Regions from separate parts of the Homo sapiens genome. Here regions 2, 3 and 4 are each linked to region 1. The links are contacts of gene promoters, found by promoter capture Hi-C in blood cells and fetal thymus (Javierre and others, 2016). All regions are on one chromosome and are shown on one strand. Each heading gives the region's core, a stretch centred on a gene start or on the middle of the fragment in contact. The rest is flanking DNA. Distances are from core to core; before and after follow the strand shown. Region 1 holds the start of POLR2C (RNA polymerase II subunit C). Region 2 holds the start of ZNF319 (zinc finger protein 319). Region 3 holds the start of SPMIP8 (sperm microtubule inner protein 8). Region 4 overlaps CFAP20 (cilia and flagella associated protein 20).

Evidence for each region. Contacts are between HindIII fragments. The CHiCAGO score rates a contact against its expected background, and 5 or more counts as called.
Region 2: a contact is called between the fragment with the promoter of ZNF319 here and the fragment with the promoter of POLR2C in region 1, in 2 of 17 cell types (neutrophils and naive CD8 T cells). The highest score is 6.2, in neutrophils.
Region 3: the fragment with the promoter of SPMIP8 here is called in contact with the fragment with the promoter of POLR2C in region 1 in 8 of 17 cell types (non-activated CD4 T cells, monocytes, total B cells and 5 more); the score reaches 7.3 in non-activated CD4 T cells.
Region 4: a contact is called between a fragment that was not itself captured here and the fragment with the promoter of POLR2C in region 1, in 1 of 17 cell types (neutrophils). The highest score is 5.0, in neutrophils.

The regions. Positions count from the first base shown.
Region 1 is chr16:57,461,407-57,464,106 of GRCh38, reverse strand. It overlaps POLR2C (RNA polymerase II subunit C), which reads right to left and starts at 1,428. Exons shown (of 9, transcript NM_032940.3): 1 at 1,297-1,428; 2 at 1,029-1,078. The coding sequence starts at 1,382. RefSeq lists an enhancer at 1,276-1,570. The HindIII fragment of the contact is 6,497 bases long and covers 1-2,700 here.
Region 2 is chr16:57,999,371-58,002,120 of GRCh38, reverse strand. ZNF319 (zinc finger protein 319) reads left to right here and starts at 1,449. Exons shown (of 2, transcript NM_020807.3): 1 at 1,449-2,628. USB1 (U6 snRNA biogenesis phosphodiesterase 1) reads right to left here and starts at 714. Exons shown (of 7, transcript NM_024598.4): 1 at 540-714. The coding sequence starts at 637. RefSeq lists enhancers at 476-575, 602-896, 1,069-1,238, 2,096-2,365 and silencers at 656-905, 1,196-1,795, 1,846-1,975. The HindIII fragment of the contact is 9,268 bases long and covers 1-2,750 here.
Region 3 is chr16:57,974,877-57,977,822 of GRCh38, reverse strand. SPMIP8 (sperm microtubule inner protein 8) reads right to left here and starts at 1,279. Exons shown (of 8, transcript NM_199456.3): 1 at 1,189-1,279; 2 at 1-8. The coding sequence starts at 6. The HindIII fragment of the contact is 9,202 bases long and covers 1-2,946 here.
Region 4 is chr16:58,122,515-58,125,249 of GRCh38, reverse strand. The region is part of intron 1 of CFAP20 (cilia and flagella associated protein 20); the gene reads left to right. Among named protein-coding and RNA genes, the nearest start is that of CFAP20, 5.5 kb to the left of the region's middle. The HindIII fragment of the contact is 219 bases long and covers 1,205-1,423 here.

The DNA.
Region 1 (2,700 bases), core at 179-2,678:
CCGAATGTTACAGATGAGGAAACTGCAGCACACAGAAGTTTAATAACTTGCCCAAGTTTCACAAAAGCAGTAAGTGATGCAGCCATAAGAACGAACGAAATCATGTCCTCTGCAGCAACATGGACGTGGCTGGAAGCCACTATCTTCTTTTTTATTTTCTTTTGTTTGAGAAGGAGTCTCACTCTATTGCCCAGGCCAGAGTGCAGTGGCATGATCTCGGCTCACTGCAACCTCCACCTTCTGGGTTCAATCAATTCTGCCTCAGCCTCCCCAGTAGCTGGGATTACAGGTGGGAGCCACCACACCTGGCTAATTTTTGCATTTTTAGTAGAGGCGGGCTTTCCCCATGTTGGCCAGGCTGGTCTCAAACTCCTGGCCTCAGGTGTTCCTCAGTCTTGGCCTCCCAAAGTGCTGGAATTACAGGCGCGAGCGCGGCCTGGAAGCCATTATCCTAAGAGAATTAACACAGGAACAGAAAACCAAACACCGCATGGGAGCTAAAACTGGGTACGCACGGACATAAAGATGACAATAAACACACTGGTGACTACTAGAGCTGGAAGGGAGGCAGTGGGGCTAGGGGTGAAAAACTACCTATTGCGTACTATGCTCACTACCTGGGTGAAAGGATCATTTATACCCCAAATCTCAGCATCACGCACTATACCCAGGCAACAAACCTGCACCAATGTACCCCTTGACTCCAAAATAAAAGTTGAAAACATTTTAAAAACTTTTGTAACAATAGTAGTGAAAACAGTATTTGAACCCAAGTCTGCACACTGCTAAACCCATGCTTCTCAGCAATGCATACCCAGGACAAGGGTGGACCTAAGTGGCCCGTGGGCGCCAGGGAGGCGGCCACTGAGCCAAGGGCACAGGGTATGGTCAAGTCTCCAGCAATGCACTTTTCTCAGCACTACCACCCTCAGCCCGAACCAAGGACTGGAAGGAGCCCCAAAGAGTGTGTGGGTGGAGAGCGGGGCAGGAACCCGTGGGCGCGGGAACGAGGAAGGGGAGTCGCTTACCTATTATGGGAACCTCAGCGATGAAGACCCTCCGAATCGAATTGGCCACCCTGAAAGATCAAAAGCCAAGGGGCGTGAAGGCGCTGCAGCCTCGACAGGCTGGGCCCGCGCCGCAGGCTCCCAAAGCTAAAGCCCTGGTGCAGGGGGGCAGCTCTGGAAGGACATCGCCCCCACCCCACCCCACTACACCCCCGCCCCCTGCCCCGGGGCCCCGGCTTGGGCCTCCCGGCGCCCCAGAGCCGCCAGCCTCTTCCCTCGGTAGCCTTACGCCAGGTCGGTGTTCTCGATGATGAACTTGACATTCTCGTCAGTGAGCTCCGTGATCCGCACGGTAGGCTGGTTGGCGTACGGCATCTCGCCCAGGGGCCACCAGCCTCCGCGTCTGCTCCGCGGTGACTGCGCGGCGCCACCGCCAACACCGGAAGTCAGTCAGCGAGGCCTCCGCGGCTTCCGCAAAGACGACTCACAGCGCCGCCTGCTGCTCGGAGGCCAGAACTGCCGAGCGTCTTCTGCGGCCTCCTGCTTTAAAATGTACCAGATTCAGCTATCTCGGAGGGTAGTTTGGCAAAACACGCATACGTCCTTCACTTAACAGTAACACTTCTAAGAATTCATACTGCAGAAACACTTGCAGTTGTAAACAAAGATACGAGTGCAGGGACGTTCGTGGTAGTACTGTTTGTACTGTCCATTGATAAGAGACCTGGTGGAGTATACACACATGGAATACTATGAAGCACTTAAAAAGAACTTGTACATCTATAGAAAAACAAAAGTATATTTTAATATGAATGTATATTTTAGCAAAGTATACCTGAATTATAAGTAAATACCCTTTCCCTTGCAGTCTCAAGTATGGACCATGCACTTCTGAAAACTTCAGGAAAAGATACAATGTTCTTTAACCTAATGCTTCCTCTACAGTCTGTGTAGCTGTGGTGGGTGAGTGGGAACTCTTTGTCTCTGCATCCCCAGTGCCTGGCAGTGGGCACCATGTGGGGTGCATGCTCAACAAAGAACTACTGAAGTCCCCTAAACAGACTGGAGAGAGGTTTAAATGGGCCTCAAAAAAAGTGGCTGCTGCTCCAACAGAGAAAAGCTCTAAAATAGAACGTGGCAGGAAATACATTTAAGAGTTGGGAGAAGAGTAACCAGATAAAGAGGAGTTTGCCTTTGCAAAGAGTGACACCTCTTCCTGAAACAGAGGGTGGGCACTGATGGAACCCTGCTCCATAACCTGTGTCATCTTGGTAAATTAAGAATTATGGTTGTCTGCTGAGTGTAAGATGGATGCTATGAAGGAAAAAGGAGAATGCAATGAAAACTGGAACAGCTACTGCGAAAACTTCACAGGATGTCAAGAGATACAAGGAATTGAGAGGTGCAAAAAAGATCCAGTGGAAGACCCACAAGAGATCTGAAATTCAATTAGTTGCTGACTTTCCCCCATTAATATTCAGCTGACAGGCAGAAGAGAGCAAAGCAGAAAACAGAGCTAACCAGACGTGCAAAGGGAACCCAGCCAGTGTAGAGGCTGAGAAAATTACTGGGGCTAAAGAATGTACCACTAAAATCGTCAGACAAGAGCAGCCAAGGGAGCTGATGGTCTGTGGGAAGGCTTCTGTTACCCGTATTTTACTGATGGGAAGACTTGAGCCCAGAGACGCAGAGG
Region 2 (2,750 bases), core at 200-2,699, 540 kb before region 1:
ACCTGATAGAGCAATTGTGGGATCAACTGAGCTACTGCTTGTAAAGCACTCAGCAAAGATAAGGCCTAGCATTTAAGAATCTAAGCCCCAGGAAGTAAGGCCGACGGTTTTGTTCACCACTGAATTACCAGACCCCAGCCTGGCAGGGAGTGGGTGCTCAGTGAATATTTACTGGATGAATGAAAAGGCTCTCCCTACGCTTTAGCAAGTATTACTATCGCAATTGTATTCAAATCAGGAAACGGACCTAGGATGGTACAGGGATGTGTGCCAGGCGATAGAGTGGGCCAGCGCGAGGCTGGACCCGAACCCAGGTCTGGCCTCCCAACTTGGCCCTAGCCAGGTGGGGCCACTCTGGAGCTTTGTCTGGGGTGGGGGGGAGGGGTATATCTTCTGGATCCTCCTTTCTTCCTGCGTCCCCTTTTCCTTCCCAGAGCCGCCCCGCATCCTCCCTCCCCACTCCACCCCCAGACATTCGGGTCCCGTCTGGCTCTAGGGTGAATGCGCGCGCCCTCCGGAGAGACTTCCTCACTCCTCACCGACGGTGGCTCCCATCCCCCGGCCTGGTCCGCATCCCGTCCTCGGACTCATCCTCGGAGCCGCTGCTGCTGTAGCCCACCAGGGGCGCCGCGCTCATGGGGCCTCATCCAAGACCACCAGAGCAGGTCCACCAGCAACCTCAACCGGCACCCGGAGTTCCGCTGTGCCGGAAGCGCCCTCCCAGGGGCGGGGCCTGGGCTGGCACCGCCTCGGGGCGGAGCCGGGAGGGGCGGAACCCGGCAGGACAGTGGTGAAGATTCAGCCCACCGACTCCAAGCTGTCTGCCGGCTGCGCACGCGGATCTGGTCACCTGCAGCCTCCCGGCACCCCGCTGGGACCTCCCCAGCCTTCGTGTACCCATTTCATATATCGCTCAGGGCCCTCACCTTTCTGCCCGCTGCTGTCTGCAGCCACCCGGGACCAGACATACCAGACACGACAGTCCCGGGTCAGCGCACTAGACCCAGCGGAGACCCCTGCCTGCCCCGAGCCCGGCCAGGATCAGAGGTCCTGGAGCCCCCTCCTCAAACCAGCCCAAAGTCCAAGCCCCTAAAAGCCAAGCTGAGCAGTTAGGGGCGGATCAATTGTGGCAGACCAGAGCCTCTAGGAGGCCCCTCCTCTCCTGCGCAGAGCCGGGCCGAGGGCGGTCACCCGGAGCCCCCTCCCCTAAGCCCGAGCGGGGTGGCCGGAAGCAGAGCGCCCTTCCTCGGTTAGTCGAGGCGCCCAGGCCTGGCGACTCGAAAACCGCCCGGAGCACCCGGCTTGTCCGACCTGGCCCGGCCACGGGGTCCCCGGCAGGGGGCGGCCTCGCTCCGCGCCGCCCGCTCCTCCCGCATTGGCCGCCGCCGCCCGGGATGCCGCTCCTCCCCCGGCCCCGCCTCCCTGGCCCCCGCGCCGCCCGCCCGTCCGCCCGTCTCCGCAAGGCCATCGGTCCGTCCGCCCGCCCTCCCGGCGCTCCTCGCCCCGGCCCCGCTACTCCGGCAGCGCGCGTCGCTTCCTCCGTTCCGGCCGCCGCTAGCCCGTCCCCCGCCCCCGGTCCGGCCGCAGCCGCTACGCGAGGCCGGGGATTGGCAGCGCGCGTAGGCCGCGCCGCCGCGGATGGAGCCGGAATAAAGGGGCGGCCGAGAGAGCAGCTGGTCGCCGCTCGCCCCGCGCCTGCCCTGCAGGCGGCCTGGAGCAGGTGAGCGGCGGGGCGCCCGGGGCCGCATCTGGGGGCCACCCCCGCGCCCGCCGCACCCCTTCCTCTGCCGGCCCGGCCGCCCCCCCGCGCCCCTCCGCCGCGACCTAGCGGCCTCTTGAGCTTCTGGGCGGCCCAGGCCGGGCCTCGAGGCGCAGCCGCTTCCTGGGCCCGGCCTGTAGCCCTGGGGCCTTTCTCCAGCCCGGCCGCCCTCGGGGCTCGCCCTCGGGTCGCAGCGGCCGGGCCATCCCGGACGAGGGCTGACAGGACGCAGCCCAGCTGGGCCTGCAGGCAGGGCCGGCGGGAGGTGATCGGCTTTCATTCGGTTTCTCAGGGAGGAAGAAGAGACGGGGTGGGGCGCAGGTGGGGGGCCTCCCCTGCCTCTCCTTGCCTCCTCTCTCCCCTTTGCGGAGTGATCACAGAGGCTTCCTGGCTGCACCTTGCTGCAGGAGGGCCAGGGTGGGCAGGGGGTGCTGCAGACCAAGCCAGGGGACACTGTCTGACAGCCATTCATGCCAGAAAAAGCAAACAAAACAGTGGGTTGGCACAGCGGACCTACAGGCGCTCAGAGAAGCCCACCTTCCCCCTCTCTGTCCCGAGAAGGCTTAGAGTGGTACCTGCTTGCTCAAGCAACCTGCTGCCTCCACCCAGAGCAGCCGCTCCTCTCCTCCCTCCCTTCCGGAAGATGCTGAGGATGACAGCTTTTAGCCTGACTCTTACATTTCTTTGGCAGAGCAGTTAGAGGCCAGACTGTCCTGTGAAGGCTTCTCCTTCCTTCTTCCTCTGCTCAGGAGAAAACTTACAAACTTTTAAATGTAAGAGGCAGATGAGCTGGGAACCTGGAAGTGGGTTGCATCTGACTCTGAAAGTTCCTCCCTCTCGCTGGCATTACCTCATGCTGCCACAAAGTGGTGAGTTAGAGATTTGCCTGGGCTGGGTGGGCTTTACCTTCCAACAATTACCCAGAACTTTATAGGCTTGGAGTAAGGGAATGGAGTTGTCTCTAGAGAGGTGATGAGAAATGCTCTGTGGT
Region 3 (2,946 bases), core at 30-2,529, 510 kb before region 1:
GGCCATAGCTGGGGGGCAGAGGGTTCTAAGGGGCTCACCCTGGGCTCATGCTGGCCAGACACCCTTCTCTGCATGAAAACAACCTTGGCCAGTGCCGATGTCTACTTGCCAAACATTTATTTAGCACCTACTGTGTGCCAGGCCATTTTTCTGGAGCTCAGCATGAGGTGGCAGGAACATTCAGATAACAGAAGATAACAGAGACAACCCTCCCACTCCCCTTCCAACACACACATACACACACACACACACACACACACACTCACATTGTGCCATGGCTGTGAGGGAGGTCAGTACAGAGTGTGTGTTTCTGGGGAGGCTGGGGTTAGGACATTCAAGGAATGGTCTAAAAGAGGTGGTATTTGAGTCTATTCGTTTTTTTTTCTTTCTTTCTTTTCTTTTTTTTTTTTTTTTTGAGACAGTCTCACTCTTCTGCTCAGACTGAAGTACAGTGGCGCCATCTTGGCTCAATGCAACCTCTGTCTCCTGGGTTCAAGTGATTCTCCTGCCTCAGCCTCCTGAGGAACTGGGATTATAGGCATCCACCACCACATGTGACTAGTTTTTGTATTTTTAGTAGAGACGGGGTTTCACTGTGTTGGCCAGGCTGGTCTCGAACTCCTGACCTCAAGTGATCCACCCGCCTCAGCCTCTCAAAGTGCTGGGATTACAGGTGTGAGCCACCTTGCCTGGCGAGTCTATTCTTAAATAATAAGCAGGAAAGTGCAGCAGCAAGCGGGTTCAGAATGTAGCTTAGTATGCCGTATACCTCTGGGTGAATAATTATGGACTTGCCCTAGCTATTTACCCAAAATTCTACAGATTGACTCAGAAAGATTTTCAGGAAGGGGAGCAACATGATATATTTAAACTAGAAAAGCATTACTGGATACCCAGTGCCTCCCTTTAAAAAGCAGATAGTCCCAGGAGCCTTTCAGTCATTTACACTTTAGTGAGAATTTGTTGAGACAGCTTGCTTTCTTCCTGACCCTGAGTTAGAGGTGAGAGGTGGAGGTGGAAGCTAGGGTGGCAGGAGGAGAGAGGACCTTAGATCATGGAGGAGCAGGGAGGGGGCATGGTGACAAGGCATGGGGAAGCTGCCTTAGGGGATGTGACTGCCTGGGGAGGGACAGGGAGGGGGATCACGGATATGGGGAAGAGAGCAAGGGCTCCCTGCTTCTGACTCACCAATAGCAGCTACCTTATCTGTAGGGCCCAGGCCCAGGTGCACAGGCTTATAAGGACTTTCAGTTCTTTGACTGCTCAATGGGCAGAAGAGGAAGGGAGGTGGACGAGCCCTTATTATGGACAGCAGCAGAATAAAGGAACATTGTGCACAGACAATGCCCATTGCAGCCTGATTCTGAGGCACCCACTCCTTAGCAACCCTGGCAACTACAGGCTCTAACAAGAGCCTGTGCCAGAATTCCTGTGCTCTGGCCACTCCCTTCCAGCCTTCCTGAAGGCTGTGGTCTCCCAGGCCTTAGCACAGGCCAGGCATCTTGGGAAATGTCAGATGGGGAGCTGGGGTTCCCTGGAGGTAGTCAGGCCAAGGCAGGCCAGAAATGGCTACTGAGCCCACTGCAGGCTGTGTAATCCTGGGCTAATTACCGCCTCTCTCTGGGACTCAAGGCTCTCCTCTGTGTTAGGCAAGGACTCTAGGATCTGCCGTTAGGAGGATCTGGATGCTGAGAGGGATCTCCCCTCCCTGGAACCCTCAGGGAAGAGGGCACTGCACTGTCTGCCAGCCCTTGAGTCTCCAGGAGTGGAGATTAGCTGTGGCCAGTATCCAGGGTAAGCGTGAGGGGATCAGGGAGAGTGGTGGACTCAGCAGGCCAGGGATTAGCAGATGATACTCCACCCTCAGCCCCTGCAGGACTGCAGGCTCCCAGAAAAGCCAGGCTGTGAGTGCCCAAGGCCAGCACCCCAAAGCCCTGGGGCCTGCCCACCATCCTGGTCACAACCATTAGAGACAGACCCCCAAGGTGAGGAAACCCCAGGAGATCCTAACTTATTTGCATATATTGGCATGTGCTTTTGCATATACCTGCCCAGGGGCTGAACCTGATGGGTCTTGGAGCCCCTCCTGTGAAATTCTTGTAGGATTTGTTTCCCCAGTTGCTCCTCCTCCAGTGCTCCATACAGCTTCCAGAACAGCATTCCTAACTGCTACCCCTTACAAAAAACCTTCCCAGAGTTGACTCCACTCACCACCCCACCCCCAATTTATTTCTTGACTCTTTTAAAGTTATAAAATAGAAGAAATACAGAAAGTGAATAAATATCTAATGTAACTAATAATTTACAAAATGAGACCCCGTATAACTACCACCCACCCTGGTCAAGACATGGAGTACTACTTTTAAAACAGTTTATCAGTTTCTTAAAAAATGAAACAGAAATGTACCATATGATTGGGTCATCTGGAAGATTCTACCCCAGGAGGCTTCCCAAGAGAAATGAAAGTATATTGTGAGGCACGATGGCTCACACCTGTAATCCCAGCACTTTGGGAGGCTGAGGTGAGCAGATCACTTGAGGTTGGGAGTTTGAGACCAGCCTGGCCAACATGGTGAAAACCTGTCTCTACTGAAAACACAAAAATTAGCTGGGCGTGGTGGTGCAAGCCTGTAATCCCAGCTACTCAGGACGCTGAGGCAGGAGAATCGCTTGAACCTGGGAGGCGGAGGTTGCAGTGAGCCGAGATCGCAGCATCGCACTCCAGTCTGGGCGGCAAGAGCAAGACTTCGTCTCAAAAAAAAAAAAGTATATATCTTCACAAAGACTTGCACACAAATGTTCATAGCAACATGATGTATCGCCAAAAAGTGGAAACAACCTGTGTCCACTGATGAGTGGATAAACTGTGGTGCGTCTATACCATGCAATACTCTTGGGCAATGAAAAGAAATGAAGTTCTGATACAAGCTACGAGGTGGATGAACC
Region 4 (2,735 bases), core at 65-2,564, 660 kb before region 1:
CTTCCAGTGGGACAGCATGTGGAGGTGGAGACTGTGATTGATGTTAATGATCCTGACCCTGTGCGGGCCTGGGCTCATGTGTGTGTTTGTGTCTTAGTTTTTAACAAAAAAGTTTAAAAAGTTAAAAAAAGAAATAGGAAAAACCTTATGGAATAAAGATATATAGAAAGAAAATATTTTTGTGCAGTTGAACATTGTGTTTTAAGCTAAGTGTTATTACAAAATAGTCTAAAAGTTTTTAAAATTTTTAAAGTTTATAAAGTAAAAAAGTTCCAGTAAGCCAAGGTTAATTTATTATTGATGAAAGAAAAATATTTTTAATAAATTTAGTGTAGTCTGGCCAGGCACAGTGGCTCATGCCTGTAATCCCAGCACTAACTAAATAACTAAAGCACAGTGGCTCATGCCTGTAATCCCAGCACTAACTAAATAACTAAATAAAATAAATGTATTGTAGCATAAGTGTATTGTGTTTACAAAGTGTTCAGTAATGTCCTAGGCCTTCACATTCACTCACCACTCACTCACTGACTCAACCCAGAGCAACTTCCAGTCCTGCATGCTCCACTCATGGCCAGTGCCCTATCCAGTTGTGTCACTTTTTATCGTTTATACAGTACTGTACCTTTTCTATGTTTAGACACACAAATACGTACCATTATGTTACAGTTGCCTACAGTATTCAGTACAGTAGTATGCTGTACAGATTGTAGCCTAGGGGCAATAGGCTATACCATATGGCCCGGGTGTGTAGGATGTTGTACTGTCTAAGTCTGTGTAAGTACACTCTGATATTCACACAGCCATGGAACTGCCTAATGAGGCATTTCTCAGAACGTAATCCCATCCTTAAGCAATGCATGACTGTAGTTAGTACTTTATAAGTAATGACATACAGAATTAAATATGGCAGGGACTGAGGAATTTGCTCAAAACTAAAATAAGATGTTTGAACTTAGCCCACCATCCAGATTTCTAGGAATAGGAAGTACTGTAAAACCAGACTCCTGAAATGAGAAGAATTTAGTTGTTGCACCGTGGCTCGCCCAGCCCTAAGCCCTTAATGTGGCTCTAAGGCCACATAACCCATGCTCTGGCACCTGCTTCACTTGTTCTCCAGGCGGGACTCACTTCACCCGGTTCCCCCTCTTAGTAGTAGCCTCCTACTGAATTGAAGGAAGTCCTGTTCTCTCACCTTCAAGCTTTTGCACTTCCTGGTCCTTCTGCTGGGCGCTGCCCCTCACCACCCCACAAGCCTCACTCCCATCTTTTCATTAGGCTCCAGTCACAGTTCAAAGGCCTTTCTCAGAGTGACCTTCCTTAACTCTTCAGGGTAAGTTAATTTACTTCTTTCTTATCACACTTGACATTATTAGCTTCTTAAGGTCTGTATTCCTGGCTATACAGTTTCCTGATAGAAGCTTTTGTAAGTTTCTAAACCAACAGCTTAGAAGAAATTAGGGGTTTCTTTAATGTTACCTTGACATCTGGGACCAGCAAATCTTATATTTATTAAAAGACTCTTACGTTTAATGTAAACATTACTTCTGGTTGTAAGGAAAATACCAGGAGGTTCTGTTCCCACTTATACTTGTGTAAAACATGCTGTAATTTTCAGTCTTTTTTTTTTTTTTTTTTTTTTTTTTTTTTTTTTGAGACAGAGTCTTGCTCTGTCCCCCAGGCTGGAGTGCAGTGGCACGATCTCGGCTCACTGCAGGCTCCACCACCTGGGTTCACGCCATTCTCCTGCCTCAGCCTCCGGAGTAGCTGGGACTACAGGCGCCCGCCACCACGCCCAGCTAATTTTTTGCATTTTTAGTAAAGATAGGTTTTCACCGTGTTAGCCAGGATGGTCTCGATCTCCTGACCTCGTGATCCGCCTGCCTTGGCCTCCCAAAGTGTTGGGATTACAGGCGTGAGCCACTGCGCCCAGCCAATTTTCGGTCTTAATGGTAGTAATCCTGGCTGGGCGCAGTGGCTCACGCCTGTAATCCTAGCACTTTGGGAGGCCAAGGCGAGCTGAGGTCAGGAGTTCAAGACCAGCCTGACCAACATGAAGAAATCCCGTCTCTACTAAAAATACAAAAGTTAGCCGGGCATGGTGGCACATGCCTGTAATCCCAGCTACTCGGGAGGCTGAGGCAGGAGAATCACTTGAACCCGGGAGGTGGAGGTTGCGGTGAGCCGAGATGGTGCCATTGCACTCCAGCCTGGGCAACAAAAGCAAAACTTTGTCTCAAAAAAAACAAGATAGTATCCTAAAAGTACATGAGATGAGATTGCATTAATTCATGAAAACGCCTTTGTCTGTCTTTCCTGTCACCCTGTCTTTCTCTCAGCTGCTGCTGTTTCTCCCCTACTCCAAGACTAAATATTAGACCAGAGTCTTCTGCTGTTGCTGGATAGTGTTAGATTCCCATGTCCTGTTCTAATTTTAAAAATAAAGTCTCTCTTCAGAAAAAATTTCCTACATTCTAGTTTTTAGTTAGCATGCCTTGTTGATAAAAATTAAATTGGTGCTGTTTTCAGTAGTAGAATTGAGTGTATTTGGACATAAAGGTGGTAAAACTTTTTTTCTGACTTGGAGAATGTTCTTCATTATTCTGAGTCAGGTTTTACTGTAATTGAACGAAGACATGGTTTTTTGGTTTTGTTTTTCTTTTTTTTTGAAACAGAGTCTCGCTCTGTCACCCAGGCTGGAGTGCAATGGCACAATCTCAGCTTACTGCAACCTC